4 separate regions of the Homo sapiens genome follow, and regions 2, 3 and 4 are each linked to region 1. Evidence: promoter capture Hi-C in 16 types of primary human blood cells and fetal thymus (Javierre and others, 2016). All regions are on one chromosome and are shown on one strand. Each heading gives the region's core, a stretch centred on a gene start or on the middle of the fragment in contact. The rest is flanking DNA. Distances are from core to core; before and after follow the strand shown. Region 1 holds the start of ELOVL2-AS1 (ELOVL2 antisense RNA 1). Region 2 overlaps TMEM170B (transmembrane protein 170B). Region 3 has its middle 8.7 kb from the start of TMEM170B. Region 4 overlaps LOC105374928 (a long non-coding RNA gene).

What was found. Contacts are between HindIII fragments. The CHiCAGO score rates a contact against its expected background, and 5 or more counts as called.
Region 2: a fragment that was not itself captured here is called in contact with the fragment with the promoter of ELOVL2-AS1 in region 1 in 2 of 17 cell types (endothelial precursors and fetal thymus); the score reaches 7.5 in endothelial precursors.
Region 3: a fragment that was not itself captured here is called in contact with the fragment with the promoter of ELOVL2-AS1 in region 1 in 3 of 17 cell types (endothelial precursors, fetal thymus and activated CD4 T cells); the score reaches 7.6 in endothelial precursors.
Region 4: a fragment that was not itself captured here is called in contact with the fragment with the promoter of ELOVL2-AS1 in region 1 in 8 of 17 cell types (fetal thymus, M1 macrophages, megakaryocytes and 5 more); the score reaches 13.1 in fetal thymus.

The regions. Positions count from the first base shown.
Region 1 is chr6:11,041,550-11,045,655 of GRCh38, forward strand. ELOVL2-AS1 (ELOVL2 antisense RNA 1) reads left to right here and starts at 2,209. Exons shown (of 5, transcript NR_038964.1): 1 at 2,209-2,276. ELOVL2 (ELOVL fatty acid elongase 2) reads right to left here and starts at 2,756. Exons shown (of 8, transcript NM_017770.4): 1 at 2,679-2,756. The coding sequence starts at 2,681. RefSeq lists a silencer at 2,652-2,851 and enhancers at 3,286-3,786, 3,787-4,106. The HindIII fragment of the contact is 4,245 bases long and covers 1,020-4,106 here.
Region 2 is chr6:11,544,225-11,548,330 of GRCh38, forward strand. The region is part of intron 1 of TMEM170B (transmembrane protein 170B); the gene reads left to right. Among named protein-coding and RNA genes, the nearest start is that of TMEM170B, 8.5 kb to the left of the region's middle. The HindIII fragment of the contact is 9,162 bases long and covers 1-4,106 here.
Region 3 is chr6:11,526,957-11,531,062 of GRCh38, forward strand. No RefSeq gene overlaps it. Among named protein-coding and RNA genes, the nearest start is that of TMEM170B, 8.7 kb to the right of the region's middle. The HindIII fragment of the contact is 3,603 bases long and covers 341-3,943 here.
Region 4 is chr6:11,494,749-11,498,854 of GRCh38, forward strand. The region is part of intron 3 of LOC105374928 (a long non-coding RNA gene); the gene reads left to right. Among named protein-coding and RNA genes, the nearest start is that of TMEM170B, 41 kb to the right of the region's middle. The HindIII fragment of the contact is 384 bases long and covers 1,484-1,867 here.

The DNA of each region.
Region 1 (4,106 bases), core at 959-3,458:
TAGAAACTTAAGTCAATAAGGTATCTTTCATTCATCTTTGGTTGGTTCATTGGTTTTAATTTCAAAGACAAACTTATATTTCTTTCCTTTTTACCTTTAATTTCTACTACCTACCTGGGAAAGATGGTAACCACAGAACTGCTGAACTTACATAGTCATAGCTATAATTACATAATTTTCAAAAACTTATGTAAATTTTATTAAACAATTTGTTTCCAATTAATACATTTCTCCAGACTAATTTTTAAAAAACCAATGCCATAAATCCACATTATAGAAAAACAAAAGGAAATTTGAAAGAAAAAATATTTATTTTGGAATAATAAGACTAACTAGCAGAGATATCTTACAAGACAGTTCATATTGGACATGTATTGAAAAGGATGTCTCTCTGAACTGACCCACTAAGTTATTTATAAATTCAACCCCCTAACTTTCCTACTCCCTGCCCATTTTTTTTTTAAAGTAATACGATTTCAGCCGGGCATGGTGGCTCATGCCTTGTAATTCCAGCACTTTGGGAAGCCGAGGTGGGTGTTGATCACTTGAGGTCAGGAGTTAGAGACCAAACTGGACAACATGGTGAAACTCTGTCTCTACCAAAAATACACAGATTGGCCTGGTGTGGTGACGTGCGCCTGTAATCCCAGCTACTCAGGAGGCTGAGGCACGAGAATCACTTGAGCCCAGGAGGTGGAGGTTGCAGTGAGCCAAGATTGCATCACTGCATGCCAGCCTGGGTGACAGAGTGAGACCCTGCCACAAAAAAAGAAAGAAGAAAAAAGTAATACAATTTGGATTTGGGTATTAAAAAAAAATTCCTCTGAAGACCCACAGTTTCTGAGAAATACTTATCTAAACAGGAAGCATCACACTTGGGCAGGATAAAGCTTTCAAGAGCTTGCCCTTGATTTTAGCTCTTTTAGGTTAACATTCCCATGACTTTCCTATTCAGCTAAAGAGATTTCCTTGGACTTATTCCCTTACTCACTACAATTCCTACCTATACTTTAGGACAAAGCTTCAGAGCCCAAAAGGAGAGCCAGTTGGTCCTAAAAATGCTTTGTCCACTCTGATGCCAAGGTGCAAAGAGCATGAAGCGACAGACAAGGCATAAGAGATAGCCGCCTAGACTCGTCATTGAAGGCTGCCAAAATCGGGTCCCTCCTGTCGGGAGTATCTCCCTCCTCCCAAACTTCACTTGAGACTCTCATCATTACAAATGTCAACTGCATAATCTTTGCAGTTACTCCCCACCTGTGCATTAACATAAAGCAGCTTGCTTTATTGGGTTAATTCAAAAGAGTTATCAAGTACCTACTGTGCGCCAGGCACTGCTGTAGGTACTAGAAATCTAGCAAGCAATGAACGAAATGACAAAAATCTGTGTCTTCCTGAAACCTATATTCTGGTAGAGGAGACGTTCAAGAAACAAGCTAAAGAAACAAAATATGCAGTACGCTAACTAATACATGCTCAAGAGAAGACAAATGAAGCAGGCAAGGGGAATATACACTGTGGTGGGCGGGGTAGGAAAGGTTGGAATTTTAAGATTAAGTGGTCACACATAATCAGGCAGATGGTACGTGCCTAAAAGGGTAGCCAGAGCAAAATCAGATGGAGTGGGGAAGAGAAAGGAAGTGCGCTTATTTTAACAAGTCCTGAAGTGGAGAGAAAACCCTACGGGAAGGGGGTGAGGCAAACACTGAATATGGACCACTGAAGACAAACGCGGATTTCACATTTTGCCTAAAGACCAGTCCTTTGAGGATGGCACAACAGATGTTCTCCCTTTGTAACCAAAGAACCAGGCTCTGCTACTAAAACTGTCAGGCAGTTCATCGGACACGGGTGAACACACACACACACACACACACACACACAGCTTACTGTCAGGCAGTTCATCGGACACGGGTGAACACACACACACACACACACAGCTTACTGCCGAGGAGAAAGAAGCGTTACTAATCCAGAGTGGAGGACTGGCCTGGGAAATCGGGCAGAGAGAGGAGTTGTCGGAAAGAACACACCAGAAGCCCCTCCGAGCCCAGACACTGATAGAAACCCAGCCGCTTCCCAAGCCAATCTGCAAACCCAGGAGGCACCCACGAGTGCACAGACACACCCCCGGGGTGCAGGCGCGGTGAAGGGAGGAGAGGGGCAAGAGCTTGACCGTTAGGGCCCGAACCCCAGAACTCCCGAGGCAGGGTGTGTGCCGCGCGCGGGAAACGCCGTTCTCCGCTCCAGGCGTCGGCGGGCGGTGGCGAGAGCAGGTTCGGGGGTCCGGAGGGTCGGAGGGTGGGCTGCGCGCGGGAATGGCCGCCGCGAAGGAGGGGCGGCTTCCTCGGGCATCCCGGGCGCCCGGCCCCGTGCATGCAACAGGGGACTGGGCGCGAGCGGGCGCCTCGAGGTGCCGGGGCGGGACCGGGGAGAGGGGACCGAGACAAAGTTCCCGAGACCCGCGGGCCTCGGGCCGACCCGCGCGCCCCCGGCCCAAACGCTCAGCTCCCGCTCCCCAGGCCCGCGCGGACCCGGCCCCTCCGAGGGTAGCGGGTTCCAGCGGCGAACCCGCAGCGCCCGCGCCGGCGCCCGCTCGGCCCTTTCCCGCCCGGTGCGTGGGTCCAGGAGAGAAAGAAAGCGCGGCGGTGTCGGTGGCGGCGCGCGGCCCCACTCACCATGATCCGCAGCGGCTGTGGCGCGGCGACCCGGGCGGGCGGCGATGCGCTGTCCAGGGTAGCCGGGTCCCTCTGCCCGGCGCTATCTCGGCGCCCGCGCCGGTTACCCCCACCCACACCCACGCCCGGCGCGCGCACACCCGCCCGCGCCTCCCCGCCCCCTCGGGCTCGCGCCGCCGCCGCGCGGCGCTCCGAGCCTCGGGGCCGTTTCGTCCCCGCCCCCTCTCCCACAGGGGCCTCGCCGGCCGCCGCGCCAGGAGGGCGCGCGGGGGAGGGGCGCAGGGCAAGTGAGGCGGCGCCCCCCGCCCCTGCGGCCTCGCGCGCCCCCTCCTGGGCGACCGACCTCGCCCTCGCGTCCGCGGCGTCCCCTGCCGGCCGGGCGGCGATTTGCAGGTCCAGCCGGCGCCGGTTTCGCGCGGCGGCTCAACGTCCACGGAGCCCCAGGAATACCCACCCGCTGCCCAGATCGGCAGCCGCTGCTGCGGGGAGAAGCAGTATCGTGCAGGGCGGGCACGCTGGTCTTGCTTACAGTTGGGCTTCGGTGGGTTTGAAGCACACATTAGGGGGAAATGGCTCTGTTCCTGCAGGTTTGCGCAGTCTGGGTTTCTTAGGTTTAGGGGGTTGGGTGGGTTTCTCTGGGGGTGCGGTGGGAAGCGGATCAGTTCGGATAACGGCCCTGAGCAAGAGTCTCTGTCCCGCTCCCGGCCTGACGCGGGGCTTCCAGCGGACACGACCAACGGTGAGCGCACCCTCTTCACTGTGAACAGAACGGTGGCCTCCTAGAGCCTGCGCTTCTAGTTACTTTAGTTGTGTGTGTGGCCCAAGTGAAAGACGTCGAAAAAATTGGACTTGCCTGAGTATTACATGAACTTTCTTCCATTTCTCCCTCAAGCATGGGAAGTTGGCGGGCGTGGTGGTTCCCTCCTGTAATCCCAGCACTTTGGGAGGCTGAGGCAGGCGAATCACTTGAGGTCAGGAGTTCGGGACCAGCCTGGGCAACATGGCGAAACCCCGCCTCTTAAATAAAAAATACAAAAATTAGCTGGGTGTGGTGGCCTGCGCCTGTGATCCCAGCCACTCGGGAGGCTGAGGTGAAGGATGGCTTGAGCCCTGGAGGTGGAGGCTGCAGTGAGCCGAGATCACGCCACTGCACTCCAGCCTGGGCGACAGAATGAGACCCTGTCTCAAAAAAAAAAAAAAAAAAAAAAAATGTTTACCACATGTGAGGCTCATGTGGTAAACATGTTTATTGGGGTTGAGAGCAGCCCGTGTGGCTGTGCACGGAGGTACCTGCACCATACACTTAGCATCCCACACCTGGGGCGGTGTGGGAGCCCTTGCAGAGTTTTGTGCAGTAGCAGAGTGAGTAACTGTAGGTACCGGGGCTAAATCTTAACTGTCATACAATCACCTAATATATAGTTTCCT
Region 2 (4,106 bases), core at 847-3,346, 500 kb after region 1:
AAAATGCTCCAAAATCCTAAACTTTTTGAGCAACATGACACTCAAAGGAAATACTAGAACATTTCAGATTTCGGATTTTCAGGTTAAGGATGCTGAGTCAGTAAATAGCATGAAAATATTCCAAAATCTGAAGTCTGAAATCCTTCTGGTCTCAAGCATTTCAGATAAGGGATATTCAACCTGTACTTAAAAGTACCCTGGTAAGTGTTTGCATCAGTGAGCCTGAAGATGTATGAATGGAACTAATTTGTCCAGAAAATAAAATATACTGGAAAATGTAATATATTAGGCTTTCTAACATTTTAAGTTGCCATTGCCCTTGTAAAAGCTAGTGATCCATATTCATTATCTAGCCAGTTTTAGAACTCCTACCAAGTTCAGCCTGCTATTTATTTCCCCTACCTTGGAAGACACTTGTATGGGGATTCCATGTAGAGCATACTAATCCCTCGAAACCCCGTATCTGTCACTTAATAACCATTGCCAAAATTCTCTTTCTGTACATATCACTTCTTTAAGTGTGTTTTTCACAGGATTCCTAAATTGTTTAACTGTGTCAGTTATATGCTTCTGAAGTAGAGAGATAAATAGCTTCCTTTCTTTTTCAAATAGATTTTCTTTCTTTGAATATATTCTAAATTCCCAACCCCAATCTAAAATGAGAGTCAATATTGTATATACAGTTTTTTAGGTAACTTGACTTTTAAAAAATCTACAATTAAATGTTTTTTTTTTGGCTTTACTTTTATTTTCTTTAACTATTTTGGCTTCCATCTTAGTGTTCTGACCCAAATTTGGTTGCTAAGAGTTTAGAGAAGAATTTTTATTTAGAAAAGGGCAGGGTCTGTAAATCCCAGTATAAATGCAAAACTTGGCTGGTGTTAGGAAAGGGATAATTGGTCCCTGGGAAAAAGATGAGGGCTGCTTCAGGCTGGTCTCTCTGTGTCAGCAGCAAATGTAGGGGCAGGTGTTCCCTTCTTTTTATTGGTAATAAGCATTGGGAGGCTGGGAATTCAACCTGGAATGAAGGTTAAAAGGCTTCTCTCTCTCTCTCTCTGTGTGTGTGTGTGTGTGTGTGTGTGTGTGTAGTACTAGTAGTAAGTAGTAGTAGTAGTAGTAGTCCCGTTTATTCAAAGGCAATATGTTCCAAAACCCCCAGTGGGTGCCTGAAACCATGGATATTTCTGAACCCCATATATACAGTCATGTGCCATGTAACTTTCCAGTCAAAGAAGGACCTCATGTGATGATGGTCCCATAAGATTATAATGGAGCTAAAAAAATTCTGTCACCTACTGAGATCATGGCCGTCCTAATGTCATAGCGCAACACGTTACTCACGTGTTTATGGTGATGCTGGTGTCAACAGACCTACTGTACTGCCTGTTGTATAAAAGTAGAGCATATATAGTTATGTACAGTACATAATACTTGATAACAACTGTGTTACTGGCTTATGTATTTACTGTACTAGATTTTTTATCATTATTTTAGAATGTACCCCTACTTGTTTAAAAAAAAAAGCTGAATCCCAGCACTTTGGGAGGCCGAGGCAGGTGGATCACGAGGTCAGGAGATCGAGACCATCCTGGCTAACATGGTGAAACCCTGTGTCTACTAAAAAAAAAATACAAAAAATTAGCCGGGCGTGGTGGCGGGCGCCTATAGTCCCAGCTACTTGGGAGGCTGAGGCAGGAGAATGGCATGAACCTGGGAGGCAGAGCTTGCAGTGAGCCGAGATTGCACCAGTGCACTCCAGCTTGGGCAACAGAGCGAGACTCCGTCTTTAAAAAAAAAAAAAAAAAAAAAAAGGCAAGCTGTAAAACAGCCTCAGGCAGATCCTTCAGGAGCCATTCCAGAAGAAGACGTTGTTACCTTAGGAGATGCCAGCTCCCTGCCTGTCATTGCCCCTGAAGACTTTCCATGGGACAAAGTGTGGAGGTGGAAGACAGTGATATTGATGATCCTGACCCTGTGTAGGCCTAGGCTAATATGTATGTTTGGGTCTTAGTTTTTAACAATTTTTTTTTAATTTTAGAAGTAGAAAAAGTTTATAAAATTAAGAATATAAAGTATTTTTCATACAGCTGTACAATGTATTTGTGTTTTAAGCTAAATGTTATTAGAAAATAGTTAAAAAGTTAAAACTTAAAAGTTTATAAAGTAAAAAAGTTACAGTAAGCTAAGGTTAATTATTGCAGAACAAAAAATATTTTAAAAATAAATTTAGTGTAGCCTGTGTATAGTGTTTATAAAGTCTACAGCAGTGTACAGTAATGTCTGAGGCCTTCACATTCACTCACAGTTTCACCTGGAGCAACTTCCAGGCCTGCAAGCTCTATTCATGATAACTTCCCCATACAGATATTCATTTTTTAATCTTTTATGCTATATTTTTACTGAACTTTTTTATGTTTAGAGACACAAATACTTCCCATTGTGTTACAATTGCCTGCAGTATTGAGTAAAGTAACATGCTATACAGGTTTGTTGCCTAGGAGCAATAGGCTATACCATATAGCCTAAATGGAATATATGTTAGCTTATACCATCTAGGTTTGTGTAGGTACACTGTATAATATTTGCACAATAATGAAATGGCCAAATGACACATTTCTCAGAATGTATCCCCGTCATTAGGCAACACATGCCTGTACTATGTTTTTTCCTACACATGCATACCTGTGATAAAGTTTAACTTAGAACTTAGGCACAGTCAGAGATTAACAACAACAAATACTGTAGTAAAAGTTATATGAATGCGGTCTCTCGCTCTCAAAATATTGTATTGTACTATACTTATCTATGTTCAGACAATATTCGATAGTGGGTAACTGTAATTGCAGAAAGTGAAACTGCAGATAAACGAAGAGTATTGTATATATGTATATTTAGGATATGTATACACATGCACATATACATACTACATCATAGTTCCCTTTTAGGCATTATAGTTGCTAAGCCATTTTTGTTTCAATATTTAGTGTCAGTCAAAGAAAAAATAAAAGAAAGTGAATATTTAGTATATATATTTGGAATTGTTCACATTCATACTGGTATAGTCAGCACCTTCCTTCAATAGCGTTCCCAAGAAGGCATGCTTCTCTTGGGGTTACTCTGTATTCTAGCTTACCATTAGGTTAAGTTCCTCTTCCTAAATGCTGTATTATAGGAGGTGAGCTTAAGTAGAAAAAATTACTTCAAATGTCTACTTAGAGTTATTTATGTTTTGTAAATGTGCCCTAAAGATATATGCTACTTTTCAGTATTTGTGTCAGACCTCCATTTTACTTTTTTAAAAAATGTGAAAAGTCCTTACCCTTGATAGGTACAGAGTCAATTAATAAGTGCCAGTATGATATGGCCTTCATAGGATTTAACTTCTTAGGAGGCTTACCTGTATATCTTATTGAGAATGAAAATGCTATAATTTTTAAAAACCGAAATTGTCATTAGGGATTTTTTTTTGTTTTTACCATTTGTCATTAAGTTTTTATTTTCTTAATTTCTGTCTCATTATTTTTGAATCATAAATTCATATCCTCTAGCAATACCAAGTCCAAGGTCCAGATGACATTTCTTCGATCTGAACCATTTTCTGGATATGTCTTGGGACTGCTTGAGTTATAATTTTGATTCTTTAATATTAACTATGATAATAAAATGTATTTATCTTTGTTTAGTGTTTGAAAGGAAGGTCTAAGAAAGTAAGATAGTTCATGAAGAGGAGTCACAATTTCTAGGGATATGTTTTCTGTAGAAAAGAAACCTAAACAGAAGAGAGAGGAGGTAGGGATGGGGACAAGGAATTGAAACTAAGGAAGGAAATTGGCAACAAAAGCCAAAATTGAGAAATGGGATCTCTAATTAAACTAAAGAGCTTCTGCACAGCAAAAGAAACTACCATCAGACTGAACAGGCAACCTACAGAATGGGAGAGAATTTTTGCAATCTACCCATCTGACAAAGGGCTAATATCTAGAATCTGCAAAGACCTTAAACAAATTTACAAGAAAAAAACCCATCAAAAAGTGGGCAAAGGATATGAACAGACACTTCTCAGAAGAAGACATTTATGCAGCCAACAGACACAAGAAAAAATGCTC
Region 3 (4,106 bases), core at 892-3,391, 490 kb after region 1:
CCTCAGGTAAGTCCTTCAGGGGGGATTCCAGAAGAAGGCATTGTTACCATAGGACTTGACAGCTCCATGCGTGTTACTGCCCCTGAAGACCGTCCATGGCACAACATGTGGATGTGGAAGACAGTGATATTGACGAGCCTGACCCTGTTTAGGCCTAGGCTAATGCGTATGTTTGTGTTTTAGTTTTTAACAAAAGAATCTAAAAGGTAAAAAAAAAAAAAAAAGACAAAGTTTTGCAAACAGAAAAAAGCTTATGGAATAAGGATAGAAAGAATGAAAATATTTTTGTACAGCTGTAAAATATGTTTGTGTTTTAAACTGCTATTACAAAGAGTCAGAAAGCTTTTAAAATTTAAAAGTTTATATAGTAAAATTGTTACTGTAATCTAAGATTAATTTATCATTGTAGAAACATTTTAAAAATAAATTTAAGGTAGCCTAAGTGTGCAGTGTTTATAGAGTTTACAGTAGTGTACAGTAAGTTCCTGGGCCTTCACACTCACTCACTACTCACCCACTGACTCAGCCACAGCAACTTCCAATCCTACAAGCTCCATTCATGGTAAGTGTCCTATAGAGTTGTACCAATTTTTATCTTTTATGCCATATTTTGACTGTACCTTTTCTAAATTTAGATGTGTTTAGATGCACAAATACTTCCCATTGTGTTACAATTGCCTGTGGTATTCAGGACAGTAACCTGCTGTACAGGTTTGTAGCCTAGGAGCTATAGGCTGTACCATCTAGCAAAGGTGTGAAGTAGGCTATACTATCTAGATTTGTGTAAATACACTCCATGATGTTCACACAATGACAAAATTGACTAATGATGCATTTCCCAGAAAGAATCCTCATTGTTAAGTGATGGGTGACTATATACATTATACAAATAAAACATAATACATATGTATTATATATATTGCATATAATATGTGTAATTATAATGTGATATGGATTATAGAATGCAAATATATTTATTAATATTATATAACACATAGAATATATATATATATATATATACATGTGTTCTCAGTAACAGTTTGTTACCTATTTATTGTTTCTAATGTATGTTTTATTCTCCCTTAAATAGATGCTAAGGTCTTTGAGGGTAGAAAAAAAATCTTCTATTTCTTAACACTTATAATTAGTATAATGAAATGAAAGTGATAAAAATTATAAATTTGTGTTCAATCTCATACTTTTACAATAGGCCAGATATTGTCATTAGTTTCCCAATTAACCCAGATATTTACAATATGAGCTTGAAAAAGTTATCTAAGAAGGCATAAAAAATGAACATTAGATATTCATCACAGAAATAGAAAAAAACCCCTAAAATTTATATGGAACCACAAAAAACCTTGAATAGACAAAGCTCTCCTGAGCAAAAAGAACACAACTGGAGAAATCACATTACCTGATTTCAAATTATATTAATACTACAAAGCTATTGTAACCCAAACAGCCTGGTACTGGCATAAATACTGACACATAGACCAATGGAATAGAATACAGAACCCAGAAATCAATCCCTGCATTTAGAGTGAACTCATTTTTGACAAAGGTGCCAAAAACATACATTGGGGGAAGGAAAGTCTCTTCAATAAATGGCACTGGGAAAACTGGATATCCATATGCAAAAGAATGAAACTAGACCCTTATCTCTCATCACATACAAAAATCAAATCAAAATAGATTGAAGACTTAAATTTAACTAAGACCTCAAACTATGAAACTACTAAAAGAAAACATCAGGGAAATGTTCTAAGACATTGGTCGGGGCACAGATTTCTTGAGTGATACCTCAAAAAACACTGGCAACCAAAGCAAAAATGGACAACTGGAATCCCATCATGCTAAAAAGCTGCACAGCAAAGGAAACTATCAACAAAGTTAAGATACAGTCCACAAAATGGGAGAAATGTGTGCAAACTGTTCATCTGGCAAGGAATTAATAAGCACAATTTATAAGGAGCTCAATCAATTCAATAAGAAACAAGTCTAAAAATCTGATTTTAAAATGGGCAGAAGATCTGAATAGACATTCCTCAAAAGAAGACATACAAATGGGCAACAGGTATGTGAAAAAATGTTCAACATCACTAATCATCAGTTACATGCAAACCAAAACTACAATGAGATATCATCTCACACCAGTTAAAATGGCTTTTACCCAAAAGACAGGCAATAATGAACGATGGGGGAGGATGTGGAAAAAGGGGAACACTCGTACACTGTTGGTGGGAAAGTAAATTAGTACAGCCACTGTGGAGAGTAGCATTAAGTTTCCTCAAAAAACTAAAAATAGAATTACCATATGATCCAGCAATCCCACTGCTTGGTGTATTTCCAAAGGAATGAAAATTAGTACATTGAGAAGATATCTGCACTCCCATGTTTGTTGCAACACTATTCATAATGGCCAAGATATGGAATCAACCTAAGGGTCCATCAATGGATGAATGGATAAAGAAAATGTGATGCATATACCCAATGTAATATTATTCAGCCATAAAAAAGAATCAAATCTTGTCACTTGTAACAACTAGGATGGAACTGGAGGACATTACGTGAAGTGAAATAAGCCAGGCACAGAAGACAAATGTCATATGTTCTCACTCATATGTGGGAGCTAAAAAGTAGATAATTAAATGCACAGAGATAAAGATTAGAATGATGGTTACCAGGCCAGGCCCGGTGGCTTAAGCCTGTAATTCCGGCACTTTAGGAGGCCAAGACGGGCAGATCATTTGAGGTCAGGAGTTAGAGACCAGCGTGGCCAACACGGTGAAACCTCGTCTCTACTAAAAATACAAAAATTAGCTGGGTGTGGTGGTGCACGCCTGTAATCTCAGCTACTTGGGAGGCTGGGGCAGGAGAATCACTTGAACCCGGGAGGCGGAGGTTGCAGTGAGCCAAGGTCACACCACTGCACTCTAGCCTGGGTGACAAGAGTGAAACTACGTCTCAAAAAAAAAAAAAAAGATAATGAATGGTTAATGGGCACAAAAATTATAGTTTGATCAAATGAGTAAGAGCTAGTATTCTGTAGCACAATAGGGTGACCATAGTTTAAAAAAATGTATGTTTTAAAATAACTGAAAGAGCGGTATTGGAATGTTCCTAACACAAAGAAATAATGAATTCTTAAGATGAAGGAGATCCCAGTTACCCTGATTTGGTCATTATAAATGGTATGCCTGTATCAAAACTCACATGTACACCATAAATGGAATTATTACGTACCCATAATTAAAAACTTAAAAATTAATTTTAAAATAATTGTAATATTATGTACCCATAATTAAAAAATTAAAAAATAATTTTAAAAAAGAAAGAAAAAAGACCATTGGAAAAATTTACTTTCAGAGTTTCAATTTTTTTAATGCAACTAATATTTCTAGTTGAATTCAATTTATGATGGATTGGGTTAGGTACCCAATTGGACAGAACTTTAATATGGAGAAGAGTGATGGGGTAACATTTATTCTGTACGTTATATGAAAACTTAGAAAGTCATAATAAGTGAAGAAAGGTGGTCTGGATGAATTCTCTAGGAAACAGCCTTTGCCTGCTGCAAGGTGGCAGGATTTTGTGGGTAGACAAGATATACTCAAATTGTTTGTGTCTACAGAAAATTTGGATCATCTAGCTTTGATTAGTAAGCTGAATTTACCAGTTGACTTCTAGAAAATAGAATCACTGGAAACCTGGAATACAAAAGAATGCATTCTTGTCAGAGCAGTATTGGAATACTAATTAGGGAAGCTCAACCACTGAAGGAAAAGTCCCAAATTACAACAGGTTGCTAACCTAAAATAATCAAAATGGTCAAAATCTAGTTTAAGGAGAGTGTGTTCAAGTGCAATGGGGGGATGGCCCACCTAGGAAGTACAGATTCCAAAGAATGGAAGCCAGTGTTCCAAAGTGTAGGACTTATCTAAGCTTTAATGCCTCGTTACAATGATCTGATTAGCTAAGGTGGTCTTTTTCCCTTGAGAAAGGTACATTTAACATTCCACATGGAAGACGTAACTGTTATGGGGTCCTGAGCACCATCTAGTCTGAGTTAGATACAGGACAAAGGAGGCAGCTAATCTATAACA
Region 4 (4,106 bases), core at 426-2,925, 450 kb after region 1:
CCCCAAGAAGACAGCCTAGCAATGGAGGATAATAGTCACAGGGACAGAGGCTGCCTCCCTGCCTACCTCATCACACTCTAGCCACTGCACTGACAGGCTACCAAGTGCATGGAATGAGGTCATGGCCATTTGTGGGAAGTGCTTAGTAGTGACCCGAAAATCCTGCTGTCAGTATCAGTGACTGTGGGACCCAGCCAAGTACCCTCTAAAGAGTTGCAGCAGGCTTGTCACCATAGCTACTGTGGATTCACAAGGCTGTTTTGAGGATCCAGGGGAACTTCTCGAGAGCATGTGCACAATTGTCCCTGGGAATTTCCGAAACTAGCTGGGAGAGATTGGAGATGTTCTGAGGCTCTCATGCTCCACAATTTGTGGTTAAGCCAAAGAAGACAGCCTTTGCCAGTACTAGTGTGTCAAAGAAAAATATGTCACGTATACATTCTATGAGCACAAAGTGATGAGACAGGGCCATAAGTTAAGCATGGGAATCAGTCTCATCCCTGACAGACACACGTTAGGTAGGAACATGATTCTACTGATTTACCATATAATTGTGTTTGGCTTTCTTTTGTGTTAGTCCCAGCATAAGATAGATAGGGTTTGAGCTGATCACGCCTTACTTGAGCTGATCACACCTTACTTTCTCCCTCAGTTCTTGTGGTTAATTAGCAAGATGACAGGTCAGCTAGGGTATGGGTGGAGTCAAAGTTGTAGGATACCCTCAGAAAATCAGCTCTTCAGAGTTCAAGCTGCCTCCATCCTTTCTGACATTTGATTTATCCCCTACCAGGCTATGAAGCCTTGACTTTATAGTATAAACCTCTAATCAGATAAGCGGATCACAAAACCATCTTTATTCTCAAGACCACTGCTCTATTGCCCTAACCATCCTTGAGCCATCTCAGGGTAGAGGCATCAGCCTTCAGGAGTTACATAGGCACTGGCAGATCATCATAATAAGGACGGGTTGCCAACCTGCTCAGGTTACAGTGAATGCTGATGGGTAGAGTCTGCTTTGAATTTCTCTGACAAGAGGGAGATACAATGTATTTGGTTCACCCAATTCATTTTAAGGGATTTGGTTCCCAGATTTCCTGCAATCGGAATCATGGCCCATTTTCACAGCCACTAGAGCATTAAATTCGTGTATACAAAATAAAGGACTAGAAAACATGTAAACCTAAAAATGTTTAAGCTAAAATTGTGGTACAGATGTTATCTGAGTCCCATAAATCAGTATTCAGAAATATTGTCTTACTGTCAGAAGCAAACAGCAAACAGAGACTTGCATTAGCTATGTGTCTAGATAATGGCAAAAATTAAGTACAGTATTGTTTAGAAATCATAGGCTGGCAGATCTCTTTTCCTTTTCAGGGTTTAAAGAAAGCATAACCTTCTCTGTTGCATTTAACAAAGGAAAAAAAAGGATTTTCTTGTTTTTTGTGCGTACACCCTGCCTAGGGATGAGTTATTCATCAAAATAAGCTTCCTTGTGTTTTAGAATTTGAGAATTTAGAATACTGAGCATTCTCTAACACATCGCCCTAAACATGCTAGTTTGATTCTGAAGCCTTTTTTCCATTTTGTCAAGTTCACCCTCTGAAAGGGACAGTGAAAAATTAGGGGTTGGCTCCACCTGGTGCTTTGATTAGAAAATTACACCTCCATGTATGAGGGCTGTCAACGGACAGTGTGCCCTCTTGCGCACGGAAACAGTAAAAATACTACATAAATATTACTTAAAAATACTAAAACTACCCCACAAGAGTGACCAGTTAACTCACTTTCCATGCAGGGTGCTAAGGACTATTTTTGTATGGTTGTTTTAGTGTCTGTTGCTATGGAACAAATCATCTTAAAATATAGAAGCTTAAGACAACAAAATCATTTATTATCTCCCACGGTGTCTATGGGCCAGGAATTCAGAAGGAGCTCTGTCGGGTGGTTCTGCCTGGAGGCTTCTTTCACATGAGATCGCAATCAGACAGTACTTGGGGTTATTGTAAAGCCTCATTCGCTCCCGTGTCTGGTGTCTGAGCTGATAAGACTGGACAGGCTGGGGTGGGAGCTTCTCTCTGTCTCTATGTAGTCCCTCTTTAGGGTTTCTCAAGCATAGCCAGACTTGTTTCATGTTGGCTCAGAACATCCAAGGTGGTGTCCCCAGAAAGAGAGCCAGGAGGAAGCCGTGTTGCTTTTTATGATCCAGCCTCAGAGGTCAGGAAATGTCACTTCTGCTGTGTTCTGTTGATAGAGGTAATTGCAAACGTCTACCCAGGTTCAAGGGAAGGGAACATAGCCTCCACCCCTCAATACAGGAATGTCAGTGTCACGTCAGAAGAAGAGCATGTGGGATGGGATATATATTTGTGCATCATCTTTGTAAAAATACAATCAACCACAATTGTTTTATTTAATCATCCTTCACCGTAAATGAAGTTGCTTCGATATATCATTATCCCAATTTTACATTTAAGTGAAAGCAGAAGGAAACATTAAAGATCTTCTTACGCCCTTTCGGTGTCATACTAGAGCATTGCCTAATAAGCTGTCAAAAGTGTCATCTGTACACGATTCTCAGTCTTGGCGCTATTGAAATTTTGGTCTGGGTAATTCTTTGCCGTGGGGGCTGTTCAGGGCGTAATAGGTCATTTAGCAGTATCCCTGGCCCCTGCCCACCAGACACCAGTAGCACACCTTCATCCCTTTAGTTGCGATAGCCACAAATGTCTCCAGACATTGTCAGATATCTCTGGGGTGAGGAGAGGGCAAATGTTCCCCCAGTTGGGAAGTTTTACAGGAAGAAAGTTACTTTGATTATTTGCTATTGATGAAGGTGAGACTCTTGTAAAGTTAATGTTAACTTGTGGAGGATCATTATGTTGCAATTCATTTCTGTCCAGTAGGAAATATAAATCCTACAGATTATAGTTGTGTTGTTTTATAATTTACCAGTTTCAACTTCACTTGCAGTCTTATTCCAGCATTCTTTTTGTTCATTGACTATATATAGTAATTTTTCTTCTCCTTCTTCATTCATTGATAAGTTAAATAAACCTTTGTCACATGTGTGCATACACACACACACACACACACAAACGCACACACACACCAGCTCCTTGGCAGAATGCAGAGTGAGAATTCTCTCCAATATGGGGATATGGAGCTATTATGATCTCCCTTCAAGAAAGAACTTGTAGATTAGCTGTGAGGGTGCAGTTAGGTGATGGCCTTGGTTGCAGTGCCTCTGGTTGCTTAGCCACAGCAGTTGAGCTGAGGCCATGCTTTTCCTAGGCAGACCTTTAACAGCTAATGAGCACAGTGGGCGTGCCAGGGCCTGGCCCTTTCTGTTCATCATGGAACTTCTCCAACAGGCAGCCTTTGCTCTGGAGCTCTCTGTTGGGCTGGCTGAGACTTTTGCAGGACAGCACTGCAGTTTGAGACTCTTCCTAACTAACCCTCCTTCTCCCTCCCCTTTCACAGGTGACAGACCTGCATCTCTAGCCTTTTTGTGCTTCAGGCACAACTCAAAGCTGCCAATAATCATGTTGCCCAATTTGTGAGCTGGAACTGCAGTCTTTTTGTTTTTTTGAGACGGAGTCTGGCTCTTTCGCCCAGGCGGGACTGCAGTGGCGCTATCTTGGCTCACTGCAAGCTCCGCCTCCCGGGTTCACACCATTCTCCTGCCTCAGCCTCCTGAGTAGCTGGGATTACAGGCGCCTGCCACCGCGCCTGGCTAATTTTTTTTTGTATTTTTAGTAGAGATGGGGTTTCTCCGTGTTAGCCAGGATGGTCTCAATCTCCTGACCTCGTGATCCGCCCGCCTCGGCCTCCCAAAGTGCTGGGATTACAGGCGTGAGCCACCACGCCTGGCCTGGAACTGCAGTCTTAAGTGTGGCATGAGTTGCCTTCAGAACCCAAAGAGGCCTACCAGGCACTTCTTTTTTGAGGTATGAGATATAAGATGCAGCAATTTATCGTTTGCTTTGGAGGGAATATTCCAGCATGAACCTAACCACTGGATTCCTTAAATCCTCATTCATCTTTTCCTCTCTGGAGCATGAGTGTTTTACCAAGACCTCCAGCATACTAGCCACCTCTTGCTTCTT